3 separate regions of the Homo sapiens genome follow, and all the other regions are linked to region 1. The links are contacts of gene promoters, found by promoter capture Hi-C in blood cells and fetal thymus (Javierre and others, 2016). All regions are on one chromosome and are shown on one strand. The core of a region is centred on a gene start or on the middle of the fragment in contact, and the rest is flanking DNA. Distances in the headings are between cores, read along the strand shown. Region 1 holds the start of SERP1 (stress associated endoplasmic reticulum protein 1). Region 2 holds the start of SLC33A1 (solute carrier family 33 member 1). Region 3 holds the start of LOC101928236 (a long non-coding RNA gene).

Region 1 (4,650 bases), core at 666-3,165:
AAGAATCCAAAGGTACTCTTACATTTGCAAATGGTACATAACTTCAGTATAATAAGAAGTGAAGACAGGCCTGTCTGAATAAATAAAACAATGAAATATCCCTGAGTTATTTTTTTATCTTAGCTTCGCTGAACTTTATGTCTAAGTATCCAAGAGAACTTGCAGATAAGTAATCATTTTACAAAGAACTTAAAGCACCAAAGCCAACAGGTTTTTCCAGCATAGAATTATTTTGGTTTATAAGCATCCTTTTAAGGCCTGGCCTGTAACACATGCATGTTTCCTCATTCTCACAAAGCTGAAATTCAATCATCTTCAGGTTATATAAACTGCTTGGCTCTCATCCATTTATCAGGAAAGCTTCCAATTGGTAAGTGAAGAAGAAAGGCAAAGTGAAACGTTAAACAGAAATCTCAGTAATTTTAGAATGTGGAAAACAAACATCTACTTCAATATTAACAGCTTGCATATTAAAATGATAAATGAAGAGAGGAAAGACCTTTTTTTTGTAATCTATTTGCAAAGGCAAGTGTCTGTTACTCTTAGGGGACAGCAGGCTACCCCGACACTTTTTTTTTAAACCATGTATCAAACGTTTCTTTTATTAACCTAAAAACATTTGACTCACACATTAAAATGCCAATCAGGTAATTTCCTCTATAGTGAATCAATTCTTTGCACAAGCTTTATTTTATAAAATATACTCAATTTTGACATTAAGACATTAGATTCTGGTATATGTTAAATCAAGTTCTAACATCTATAGTACATATTTATAATTTTCTTTGCAAAGACTGATAATGGAGTTACAAAACATTCTAAATTCTCATTTCGTTAGGTTTTGTCCGGTCTTAACATTTATTCCAACTGGATCATTACCAAGACCTGACCTCCTTTTTGATCTCCTGTGAGTACAAATTAAGCTGGGAGAAGTTTCTGGAGCACCACCCTCTGTGCATATGTGGAACAAGTAATTTGGTTCAGACGAAACAGAATTATGTGGAGTCCTCGGCAGGTGGGTTGAGAACTACGCAGGTAGGACTCACTACTGACCGGTCACCACGTCATCCCAAATCCTTTCAACCCAAGACTCTACCTGATGGGAGCCCCCAAGCCACTTACCAGAACCACAGACAACAAAAATGAAGAGAGCCAATAACCAGGGTCCTACAGACGCCTTCTCTTCGGGGGCATTTCTCTGCAAAAGCGAAAATCCACCATTTCAGATGCAGAGAAACCACTCGGACCCCAGGCTCCCACGCCTGCACGCCGGTCGCCGGCCCCCTCACCTCACAGGTCTCCCCTTCCGTTCCCGAGCCCCCACAGTCTGGCGGTTCGCAGACTCGGGCCCCTACCCCTCCACGGCACCAGCCCACGGTCGGCCGGATCCGGGAGAAAACGCGACGCGGCCCCAGGGACCCGGACTCAGCTCCGGCTGCGGAACGCAGAGGGGCGCCCGCTCTTTCCTTACCGAGGTCTTGGCGACGTTGCCGCGCTGGGTGATGTTCTTGCTGTGCTTCTCGTTGGCCATACGGATCCTTTGCTTGGCGACCATCTTCGCGGCGCCACCACCTGCCCCGGCCACCCCTCGGACTCGCTCACTCGCCTGCCTCCTCTGGAGCCGCTGCGAGGCTCGGCTCGTGGTGCCCGCGCCGCCGGAGCGCCGAGGTTCTCAGGCCAGACGCTAGCTACGGCCGCTGGGCCTGGGCGCCGCAAGCGCGAGGTCTGAGCACAAGCCGGGCGCCGGCCGCCGACTGACTGACCGAGCGGGGCAGGTGCGCAGGAGGAAGAGAACTGGCCGCCGGGTCGTTCTCGCGCCGCCGTCGCCGCCGCTTTGGCCGCCGCCGTGAGCGCGGAGTGAAAGAGGAAGGAAACGCAACGCAACAACGGGAATGTGCAGCCCGCCGCCTCGATCTACTTTGGGTTCGGCTGCCAACGTCAGCACTAGACGGACTCCGCCCCGCGGAAGTGCGCGCCCCTCCCGCTGGAGAAGGAGGGCGAAAGCAGGCGCACCCTCCCAAGCTCTGTCAAGCGTCGCCCTAGATTTGCGCGTGCGCGTTTGGGCGCCTTTTCCGCGTCACTCCGTAACCGGAAGTGAATTGGCCCCGAGGCTGATGGCTCCGGAAACACCAATTCGCTGTCTCCACGCATGAGGAGACGTGTAGGGGCCGGGTTCGGCCCTGGTGAACTCTCACCCGAGCGGTTTCTCTTTCCGGGACAACATGGCGCCGTCCACGCCGCTCTTGACAGGTGAGTTCTGAAGAAGCGAGGGACTCTCTTTCTTCAGACTAGTTTCTTATTTTTGTCTTTGCCTTTGAGAACTACCCGAGGAGCCGGGGAGTCTGATCTGCCTTTTCTTGTGGCTTGCGGAAAGGCCAGACTGTTGGCTTTCTTGATATAGCGTGGCAATCGGAAGTGAAGTCTCCGCCTCTGGGCTTTCGTATTCCCCCTCCCTTTCACCCATCCATCATTCTTGCCTGCGGATTCATCTTCTACAGAAATAGAAGAAGGGGGAGAAAAACAATGTGCTAGTTGAATTTGTGACACATGGGTCTGCAATACTGGTGTTACACGGGCCCTTGTGAAGTCATTTAGGTCTACAATAAGAACAAAGACAAACATGAGTTAGTCCTCTAGAATGATCACGCACTTTAAATACACCTGGACTTAAGTAATTCCAGATTCTGGCCTTCCTGCCTTAATGAGGTTTGTAGGACTGAATAGGGAGAGTGGAGCTGTAATGCAGGTTTCAAATGATGAAGGTGTGGTTGGGAGAGGGTGTAGCAGTGAGCATGATAGAGATATTCTAGCAACATTTGATTTTGAAATGGTTATGAGCATATTAGAAATAGAACATTAGAGGACTCTTGAAATTTTGAAGCTAAAGACTGTAGTGTTGGAGGAGATAATAAACTTAGATTGGAAAATGCTGGGGAAGTTGCTTTACTAGGGTGTGGCTAAGAGTCTGCATATGAGTATTACGTAAGGAAAAGAGAGTCGGGAAGGAAAAGAAGGTTTTGGTTAAGTTCTGATAACTATATAGAAGGAAAAAGTCATTAAGAGAAAGGTTGTCTGCATTTAAGGAGGGAGGCTATTCCCTCCCTTCCCCCCCGCGAAAGGAACCTTAAAACATTTTTGCACTTTTTGCCAGTCTACATTTCTATTTTTACATTTTAAAATCTTTGTTATTAAGCGCCATGCCCACTGATGCTCAGTCTGTCTTCTGCAGTTTAGTCATCATTTATCAAACGCCGAGTATAATCTTCTAGATAATATACCAGGCAAAGACTGTTTAAAAGGCAAAGTTACATAATAAATTTTTTTTTAGGTTTGTAAAGGTAGCTTGTTATTCACAATTTTTAATACTAAATGCTTATTTGAACTCTAATGAAAAAATTACATTCTAAAATCTGATAAATAACCCCTCCTTTAAAAATGCCTACAGTAGGTAGTTCCTCTCTGCTTACAGGGTAGATTCCATCCTATGTAGCATAGTTATGTAACCATTTATAATCTTTGAATTGCTCTTGAGACTCATTTATTTCCTTGCCATCCCATCTTATTTGGTGCTCCATCAATACTGAACTGCTTCTGAGTCCCTTTGAACAACCTGTTTCTTCAGTCTAGTACTATCCTATGCCTCTTGTTGATTTGGCAAACTCTTTTTCATCTGTTGAAATTAAAATTCATTTTAGATATCATTGCTCTGTGAAGCCTTTCGTCACTCTACCCAGATAGAGTCAGTCACTTCCTGGGCTATTTTTGTACCTGAAATATATTTGAAATTTTATTTCACTTACTAAGTAGGATAATTAGACATTCACTTGCCTTTCTCCCCTGCTAGACTGTGAGTCCTTCAATGTCAGCGACAGGGTCTTATTCATATCTGTCTTCTCAGTACTAGTGCAGTGCCTGGTAGACAATAGATACTCTAAATCAGGGGTCCCCAACCCCCTGGGCCGGACTGGTACTGGGCAAGCATTACCACTTGAGCTTCCCCTCCTGTCAGATCAGTGGGGGCATTAGAGCCTCATAAGAGCGCAAACCCTATTTTGAACTGTGCATACAAGAGATCTAGATTAGATTTGTCTGTTTAGACTATCCTTTTAAATTAATGAAGGATAGCCACTTTATAGTAAATTAACCAAGGATGACAATTGTCTTACAGTGCTTAAAATCAGGGACTTTGTAAGAGCTTAAATGTTGTCTGTTCAGTCTACTCTTCATATTCTCATATTCTTAGAGGCCCAGAGAGATTAAGTGGTCCGATTCACACTGCAAATTGGCAGGATTAGGATTATACTTATTCAGATTGTTCAACTCTGTGGTCCATTTTTCTTTCACTAGAACAAACTGTTTAATCTTTTAAACATTCTCAGTGTACATATTTCATTCAACAATAGATTATTTTACTTCCAAAATCTTTTGTTAAATTTAGACTCGTGGGATTTTAGAGCTGTGAATAATTTGCAGATTAGCCAGTAAATTTTGTTAACCCCAACTCTTAATTGGGAGTGACAAGCCAAAGCAGGTGAAAAAGGGATTTTTTTTTTTAAACTCGTATAACCTAAAAGCCTCAGTACTGCTAGATCCAGATACTCACATGGCTTCAGAAATCTGTTTTTCTTTCTTTCTTTCTTTCTTTTTTTT
Region 2 (4,476 bases), core at 1,497-3,996, 5.3 Mb after region 1:
GCTAATTTTTGTATTTTTAGAAGAGACAAGGTTTCACCATGTTGGCCAGGATGGTCTTGATCTCCTGACCTTGTGATCCTCCTGCCTTGGCCTCCCAAAGTGTTGGGATTACAGGCGTGAGCCAACGCGCCCAGCCAGTTTGTTGCTTTTTATGTGTCTGCTTTTCATTTTGTCCTGAGACTGCTGTTTATATCACCACAGAGGATTAAGGAGATGATGTTACTTAAGATGAGAAAGCCTCAGTGAAATCAAGGTTTAAGAGGCCATGGAAACTAAATTGCTAATTAGCTAAATTGGAACTTTCTCTTAATGTAAGAGTGATTGGTAAAACATCATTCCAGAGAATAATGTTATGAGTTCAAGAGTTATTATATTTATACTCCCTTAGCCACAACTGTTCCCTAATGGATCAAAATTATGCCACTGGATTTTAATTTACACTGACTTATTCTTTTTTTTTTTTTGAGATGGAGCCTTGCTCTGCCGCCTAGACTGGAATGCAATGGTGCGATCTCGGTTCACTGCAACCTCTGCTTCCTGGGTTCAAGCGATTCTCCCCACCCAGCCTCCTGAGTAGCTGGGATTACAAGTGAATGCCACCACTTCCACCTAATTTTTGTATTTTTAATAGAGAAGGGGTTTTGCCATGTTGGCCAGGTTGGTCTCAAACTCCTGATCTCAGGTGATCTGTCCACCTCAGCCTCCCAAAGTGCTGGGATTACAGGCGTGAGCCACTGCACCAGCCTTGACTTCTTTATTTTAATTTTATTTTTAATTAATTAATTTATTTTGGCTGGGCGCAGTGGCTTACGCCTGTAATCCCAACACTTTGGGAGGCCGAGGTGGGCGGATCACAAGATCAGGAGATCGAGACCATCCTGGCCAACACAGTGAAACCTTGTCTGTACTAAAAATACAAAAATTAGCTGGGTGTGGTGGCACATGCCTGTAATCCCACTACTCAGGAGGCTGAGGCAGGAGAATGGCTTGAACTAGAGAAGTGGAAATCGCAGTGAGCTGAGGTCCTGCCACTGCACTCCAGTCTAGTGTCAGAGGGAGACTCCATATAAAAAATACATATATATAATTTTAAGACAGGGTTGCACTCTGTTGACCAGGCTGGGGTGCAATGATTGGATCATAGCTCACTGAAGCCACAATCTCCCGGGCTGAAGCAATCCTCCTGCCTCAGCCTCCTGAGTAGCTAGGGTTACAGGCCTTCGCAAAACACCCAGCTATTTTTTTTTTTTTTTTAATTTTTAGTAGAGATGAGGTCTTGCTGTATTGCCCAAGCTGGCTCTACCTCCTCAGCTCAAGCAGTCCTCCCACCTCAGACTCCCAAAGTGCTGGGATAACAGGTGTGAGCCACTGTGCCCAGTCGTGACTTATTTTTTATTTTATTTATTTATTTATTTTTGAGACAGAGTCTCAAAAATGGGGTTTCGCCATGCTGGCCAGGCTGGTCTCAAACTCCTGACCTCAAGTGATCCTCCCACCTCAGCCTCCCAAAGTGCTGGGATTACAGGTGTGAGCCACTGTGCCCGGCCAGCAGTGAATTATTCATAAAGCAGGAGTGGAACCCCAGAACACTGAGACAAATCTACCTGGGTGCAAAGCAATTATCTCTCAACCAAACAACTGAGGAAAAAGTACTATCACCATCATTTCACCAGTAATAGTGGCTCACTCATTAGCAGTTTGAGGAGGTGTACATAAGGTTAGATGTCTGTGAGAATAAGATTGCAGGAAAATAGTGTAGTTGTGACACCTCCTACCACCACCACATACCTGGACATTTACTCTACTGTGAATTTCCAAGGTAGCACAGAAGCTGAGAAGTTCAGTTGCTTAAATTTCAAAACAGAATCCCCTAAATTCATCATCACTGACAGAATGAAGAATTTCACTATATTCCTGACATTGTTATTCCTGATATTGGTCATTTTACTTGTTTTCTAGTTGTTACAAAAGTTAAAAACAAACAAACAAACAAAAAAGCTTAGGCCAGGTGGGGTGGTTCACACTTATAATTCCCAGTACTTTGGGAGGCCAAGGAGGGGGAGAATCACCTGAGGCCAGGAGTTCAAGACCAGCCTGGCCAACATAGTGAGACAGCCCCCCCGACCCCCAACTATCTCAATTAAAAAAAAGAAGAAAAAAGAAAAAAGAGAAAAACTTACATGTGTTTTACTCATGCAGAGAAACAGGGAAATTTTTTAGAACTTACCCTCCATTACTTACAGGACAAACTTTAAACTCTTTTCCCATAGTAATTAAAGAAAATCTTACTAATTTAGTCACAGCCTTTCTCAGCACGATTTCCCAAACCCAGTTCCACAATTTAGGCAATGTCCTGTACTTTTTTGTACTTTCCTGCCTCAGTGCACTTTTACTTTGTGTTGTGCATTCTGGTGTGCCATTTCCTGGCCTCGTGGAATCTTATTCAAGAACAAAGTCAAATGTTATCTGCAATGTGAAGCCTGACTCCCAAAGGCAGTTACTAACTGGCAACTCTGAACTCTCCTAAAATGTTCATCTTCCTTATTTCTTGAGTGCAGAACTCTGCCTTATTCATTAGAGGCCTTAGAATCCCGTCCCTTAGCTGGTTCAATAATGTTTGAACGAATAAACCCTGTTCCATTCACTAGAAGGCTGGATTCTGGGTACAACGGTAGGGGTAGAAATGGATTAGAAAGTATAGAGCTAGAAACCTAAAACCAACAAGACAAAAGGAAAAATGTGAACCATATGAGCCACACTTTTTAAAAGTGTGCATTTGTGTATTAAGCAAGTGGCATGAATCCCTGGACTCGGTTGTGTTATTTGATGGGTTGCCTCTCCCTGTTAACCGCATAGTGATCATTTGATTGCTCTAATATCATTCATTTTGGCTTTAATATTTCAAAGAAGCTCATTTGGACGAAACAGAAAACTTACCTTGAGTTATCTCCCATACAATGATTTCCAGTAAATTAATGAGCTTCCCTCCAACGTCACACACTCTTTCAAAAGGATAAATAAACCTAACACCATAATAGCTTAAATACACTACCTGAAAGAGTAACGATTCCTCTGGGTTGAGGCTGAAACCGCAAATATTTGTTACAAAAGTCGGCAGATTCAAGGGCCAAAAACAAAACATTGCCCAAAAAGTAACCCGCTGTTTGGCCCACCGAATTGCAAGTAGAAGCATAACCCACATTTTCCCTGGATAACATAGTTAACGCCCAACCATCGACGGCAATGTCCTGAGTGGCGGCCAAGAATTCAAACAAAAAGAACGCCACAGTGAGAGCAATCACGTCGGGTGTTCTGTCATCGGTATTCCCAAGCAAACGGTCCACCTGAGTGGATAAATAGATCATGAAGAGTCCTAGTATATACTGTGTCGGGACAAGCCAAGATTTGCGACGACCGAAGTTCTTAACGTAGACCGCATCAACCAACGGGGCCCAGAGTAATTTGAGACTGAAGGGCCAAAAGACAAAACTGAAGAAAGCTTGGTCTGTATAGCTAACATTTTTGCTTTGCAAAATGAGTGGGATGCTTCCCGCCAAGCCCAGGGGAATACCCTGAAGCACGTAAAGAAAGAGTAGTAGCAAAATGCTGCTTAGTTCGGCCCGGAAGCTCTGTGGGGCTTTTAAGAAGTCGCCAGTGCCGGTATCCCCCAGAAGAGCTTCTCTGTCCCCTTCCCGGCCCGCTGAGTCCAAATGACTGTCATCCCAACCGCCTGGCGGCAGGGGACCGCTCTTCATATCCAGAGAGTGACTGAAATTCCCTGGCCGCCGTTGCCGGCTGCTGTCCTTGTGGGAGATGGTGGGTGACATATCAGAGACGATGCAGAGCCCCGTCTGTGGGGGGCCGAGGCTGAGCGTTTTGGATCCGTCCAGTCCCAGGTCCAAGGCTGTCGCGCTGGACCAGGGTTTCGGTGGTTCACGGGATGGTGGCAGGGCTCAGAGCGATAAGGGCACTTCTTACTGCAGCCCGGAGTGCTGAAGCCGGGAGCCAGTCCTCTGGCTAGAGGCCCAGAGGATGCCTGGATAGGTGCCCCCTGGAACGGCGTCAAAGAGCCTGAAGGAGACCCCCGGGCAGCAGCGCCGGGCTCGAGGCTGGAGGTGTGTGCCGTGGTGCCAGGATGGAAACCAGCTCCTACCTGCGGCGGGATCGAACGGCTGGTCTCCCGACCCAACACCTCCAGCTCTCGCTGCTATCAATGCGGCAGAGAGCACTTTCTCTACAGGACTCCAGAAAAAGCATATAACTTCCTGCCTCGCGCTTCAGGAAGTGGTCCCAGTCTCTAACAGGTCCCTTCCCAGCCTCCAGAGCAAGCCAATCAGGGACACGCTCTCGTGGCCCAGTTCGGAAACAATGCTTGGTGGGAACCTGCAATCTTGGCTGCCGGAACCTTCGGGGAGGATTAACGCCGGCGCACCGTGCGGCCGGGGCGGGGCGCCGCCCAAACTCAGGCCCTGTGAC
Region 3 (4,943 bases), core at 2,019-4,518, 6.6 Mb after region 1:
GCAGGTGAAGAGAAGAAATGCGTATTTATTCCTCCACTGGGAAAAAAAATACCATCCAAAGCTACATGACTTGAGGTAAATTAATTTGCTTATTTAGGCAATTATTTAAGCTCAGTTTACTCACCAATAAAATGATAACACCTACCACAAAAAATTGTTAGCACATAAAATGATTATAGATTAATTCATGTATTTTCCAGTCCTTGGAAATGCAGATTCCCTATGTGGTGTTGGTCAATGGTTAATGCCTGTTGTTCTGGCCAGGGATTTTTGATCTGCCAGCTGTGAACAGTTTGTCTTCATTCATTCATCTTTAAATTCTTACTTATTAATTGACAACTAAGTACCAGGTTCTATTCTAGGCATTGGGAATGTTTCTTTAAAAGTTTCTAAAAAAAAAAATAAAATAAAAGGTTGGATCTCTGAGATATATTATTAAGTGAACCAAAGGAAGTTCCAACACAACATGTATAGTATGATACCTTTTGTATAACATTATGTATATATCATATAGAGATATGTATATATCTGGCCAGGCATGGTGGTATGTGCCTATAATCTTAACTACCTGGGAGGCTGAGGCTGAAGGATCTTTTGAGGTCACAGGTTTAGGCCAGCCTGGACAATATTGTGAGACCTCATTTCAAAATTTAACAAAAAAAAGAAAAAAGGAAGCAATATGTATATATTTGGAAGGCTAGATATGATGCTGCTGCCTTTGGGGAAGGTAACAAAATCATTTTGGTGAAAATTGGGGAACACAGGTAGGTGGGATGGAGGCTTTCATATTTTACTTTCTGAAGTTCTCTGTTGCAATGCTTCTCAATCTATAGTGAAGAAACACATTTGGGAAACTAGTGTGGAATGATACTTCTGTAAAAATCCAATAAAGATATTAGTAAAATGATTTTTAGTTTTTTCTTTTTTTGAGACAGGGTCTTGCTTTGTCACCCAGGCTGGAGTGCCATGGCATGATCATGGCTCACAGCAGCCTTGACCTCCCGGGCTCAAGTGATCCTCCCACCTTAGCTTCCCAAGTAGCTGGGACTACAGGGTTTGCACCACTATGCCTGGGTAATTTTTAATTTATTTTGTAGAGATGGGGTCTCACTGTGTTGCCCAGACTAGTCTCAAACTCCTGAGCCTCCCAAATTGATGAGATTACAGGCCTGAGTCACCTCATCCAGCTGAAATTTTTAAAGACATTGAAAATACAAGCCTGCATTGTTTATCATTAGATTCAACAGACATCAAATTATTCTGTCAACATGCCATAAAAGTTTCTAAACGTTTACTCTCAATTCTTCACTTACCTCGTTGAAGATGGGTAATAAGTTCAGAGTCAGGTGCCAGTCCTTGGGCCACAGGCCACTTTTTGAATGGCATTAAATATATATAAATTAATATATATGTAAATTAATATATATGTAAATTAATATATATGTATAAAAATATATTAATTTATGTCCCTGCAGACATGCCCTATATTCTACCCCTAGGATTTTCAGTTACATGAATACATAACTCCTTTTTATTTATTTAATCTTAAATCCAACTTAATGGAAAGACTGATAAAAGGAATATTGTGGTACGCTAGAATGTGGAGTCTATAGATACACACACACACATATTACACTGAACATATATGACTTATAGAATTGCCATGCCTTGAAAAAGAATTTTGACTCAGTCTGGTAATAATAGAAACAGATACAATGCACAGAAGGGGTTCAGAGGATGGAGGAATTTTTTTTGACAAGGTAACAAAAAGGAGGTAATATGTGGTCTAGGTTTTAAAGACTACATTCATAAACATTGGTCAGAAGGATAAGTGTGGAAGACCATTTTAGGCAGAGGGAAAACAGGTGCCAAGATGGGGAGGTATGAGATCGCTGGGTGCATTGAGAAATACAGTGAACATCTGTGTTTCAGCCTGCCCAGTGCCCAGTCTCCCTTCCTCAGTTCTCCCTTGAGGACCTGCAACTTCTCCATTCTCAGCAAAAGTGGTTTGGGTAGGACTAACCTCTTTCCTACTTTGTGAACTAATCTGAGTCTCCCATCGCCCTTCCCTCCCACACAGCGATTGGTTCTGAATGTCTGTCATGTCCAGAACTCTTGCTGGAACACTTGCAAGGGGAGGAGAGAGAAGTGCTTGTTCTTGCTGGGATTACTGAGAGGAGGATTTAAGCACAGAGCTACTGAGTGCCATCTTGACACAAAAGAGAACCAGCTGGAGAATGGAACCAGCAGAGAAAAGAGCAGAGACCAGAGCTAGAAACAGAATCCAATCACTTAGTTTATTTCCCTGCAGCCATGCCCTGTATTCTACTGCTGGGATTTTCAGTTACACGAACACTTAACTCCTTTTTACTTATTTAATCTTAAACCCATCTTAATGGAAAGACTGACACAAGAAATACTGTGGTGTGCTAGAATGTGGTGCATACGTGTGTATACTAGGGACTAATGTGGCTGAAGAGGTGGGCGAGGGCAGGCATGTCAGGCATGTGAAGGGCTGAGGAACAGACCCTCATTTTAGGGGACTCTCAGAAACTCTGGAGGGTTTAAAGCAGTGTTTACCTCAACAAGAAAATCAAGAGCTATAAATCAGAAACTGTAATATTAAGAACATTTAGTTTTTCAAGCTTTTCTAGTAGTTCATTTCTTTTTATTGTTTGTCTCTAATAATTACAAAACTTGAAAACAGGAGAAGGAGGGCTACAGAAGTAGCTGGGGCTGGAGCAGTGACTTCAGGGACTGGAGATAGCCCTGTACAATTAAAAATAGAAAGGACCTAGCAAGTCCCTGGAAATGACATTTTTAAAATGATTCCATTTTCCTCTTAAGGATTAAGTTGTAATTTTATTTTGAGCAATGAAGTGGCTGACCCCTTTTAGTAATGTTTTCTATTTCATAATAAACATTCAACAGAAATAGAATTTCAAGAGGAAACTTTTATAAATAATGAGAATCAGCTATTCCGAAGCTCCCTACACATTTTAATTAGTTTTCTCCCAGGAACACATTCATTAACTATTTTGAACACTATAAAACAAAAGTAAACCAGCACCACATCAAGTTCCCTGCGTATAGCTGTCATGTCTGTTTAAATTCTATAGCAGTTTGTGTGTGTGTGTGTGTGTGTGTGTGTGTGTGTGTGTGTGTCTTGTGATATTTTTCACAATTCCAGGCCAACTACTTTGAAGCATGTTCCTAAATTTGGATGTGTCTGATTATTTCCTCATGATTAGATTCAGGTTAAAGATTTTTCAAGGAATACTCCATAGGTAATGTTGTATCTCCATGCTTCACATCTAGGGGCACACGATGCCCAATTTTTTGTTCAATTATTGGCTACTTTTTATCATTTGTTAAGGTGGTATCCATCAGATTTCTCCATTGTAAAAGTACCTTAACACCCTTGCAATTAATAAGTAATCCATGGGATTATTCTTCCACAGTAAATAGCATTCTAACAAATATCAGTATCAAAGAAAAATGGCCCATAATGAAATTTTGTACAGTTAGAATGACTCTAACAAATCTCTACTGAGTATTCACTAAACTATGTTATGCTAGGCACTAAGACCAAAGTGATGAACAAATAGAGTACATGGAATGCTACATGAAAGGGTAGAATGCTACAGGAGCATACAGGAGAGGAACAAAGACCATTACATGTGAAGAAATGGAAGTTCAGAGATGTGAAAGGACTCGACCAAGATTTTAGATCCAGTAGCAGAGTGAAATTAGAACGGTGGTTTTTCTGATGCCCAGTCCAGTGTTCTTTCCATGACCACACACAAGGGCTCTACTGTAATGTTGGTTCTCTGGAACAAGTATAGCATTTGTTACCACAGTGAAAACAATGATACCTTAGTACTAAAAGAACAAGCTTTCTCCAGATCTACCACAAGGTGCTTTAGAGGGAATTTCGATTTAAACTATGTGCATTGTAACATTGAAGTCACTGGAGACCTAGTCTAGTTTTGCCTCAGGGAACTGTTTCTTTATAGTGTCACTGTCACACACACATGCACATACACACGCAGGCACATGCATACAGCACATAACTGGATATTGCTTATCAGCCCCATCTTAAAAATAGCACAGAACAAGACTTTTATTTTCAGCAATCAGGAAACGTTCAGAGGTATCTACATCCTAGTCTTGAGAGTCGACTTATATTTGATACCTGATTTTTATAGTTTTCACAGCATTTTCATATACTATCACTGGACTCTCAAAAACAACACAGTTAAGGCAGGTGTGATTGGGCACAGCTGTAGTACCAGGTACTCAGGAGACTAAGGCGAGAGGATAACTTGATCCCAGGAGTTCAAGTCCAGCCTGGGCAACATAAGGAGACCTCATCTCTTAAAAAACACCTGAACTGGCCAGACGCGGTGGCTCACGCCTGTAATCCCAGCGCTTTGGGAGGCCGAGGTGGCTGGATCACCTGAGGTCAGGAGTTGGAGACCAGCGTGACCAACATGGTGAAACCCCGTTTGCGGTGTTAGCCAGGTGTGGTGCCGCATGCCTCTAATCCCAGCTACTTCAGGAGGCTGAGGCAGGAGACTCACTTGAACCCAGAAGGCGCAGGTTGCAGTGAGCCAAGATCGCGCCCATTGCACTCCAGCCTGGGTGACAAGAGCAAAACGCTGCCTCAAAAAAATACAAAAAACACAAAAAAAAACCCCACCTGAATTATTTCTTAAGGTGGGAAAGAGGGATCAGTGTAAAATGTTGGCTGGATTACTGTCTTGCCTTTAGATATAAAAATATCTAGTGTATACTTAATTTTCAGAATTACAAAATTAGGGAATGATCAAACGTATATATATATTTTATTTTTCAAAAGCCTGCGGCACCCAGTGTTTCAAGGTGGTCTCGCATTCAAGGACTAGCTAAGCAGGTCAGACCCTGCTTAGCTTCCAAGATCA

Evidence for each region. Contacts are between HindIII fragments. The CHiCAGO score rates a contact against its expected background, and 5 or more counts as called.
Region 2: a fragment that was not itself captured here is called in contact with the fragment with the promoter of SERP1 in region 1 in 1 of 17 cell types (activated CD4 T cells); the score reaches 5.8 in activated CD4 T cells.
Region 3: a contact is called between a fragment that was not itself captured here and the fragment with the promoter of SERP1 in region 1, in 1 of 17 cell types (naive CD8 T cells). The highest score is 6.8, in naive CD8 T cells.

The regions. Positions count from the first base shown.
Region 1 is chr3:150,544,581-150,549,230 of GRCh38, forward strand. It overlaps SERP1 (stress associated endoplasmic reticulum protein 1), which reads right to left and starts at 1,916. Exons shown (of 3, transcript NM_014445.4): 1 at 1,472-1,916; 2 at 1,123-1,198. The coding sequence starts at 1,555. EIF2A (eukaryotic translation initiation factor 2A) reads left to right here and starts at 2,207. Exons shown (of 14, transcript NM_032025.5): 1 at 2,207-2,250. The coding sequence starts at 2,223. RefSeq lists enhancers at 1,427-2,057, 1,503-2,702, 1,975-2,514. The HindIII fragment of the contact is 4,802 bases long and covers 683-4,650 here.
Region 2 is chr3:155,850,171-155,854,646 of GRCh38, forward strand. It overlaps SLC33A1 (solute carrier family 33 member 1), which reads right to left and starts at 4,257. Exons shown (of 6, transcript NM_004733.4): 1 at 3,053-4,257. The coding sequence starts at 3,827. RefSeq lists enhancers at 3,845-3,914, 4,285-4,476. The HindIII fragment of the contact is 1,501 bases long and covers 1,997-3,497 here.
Region 3 is chr3:157,169,059-157,174,001 of GRCh38, forward strand. LOC101928236 (a long non-coding RNA gene) reads left to right here and starts at 4,642. Exons shown (of 10, transcript XR_007096141.1): 1 at 4,642-4,943. It also overlaps the pseudogene RNA5SP146. The HindIII fragment of the contact is 1,250 bases long and covers 2,644-3,893 here.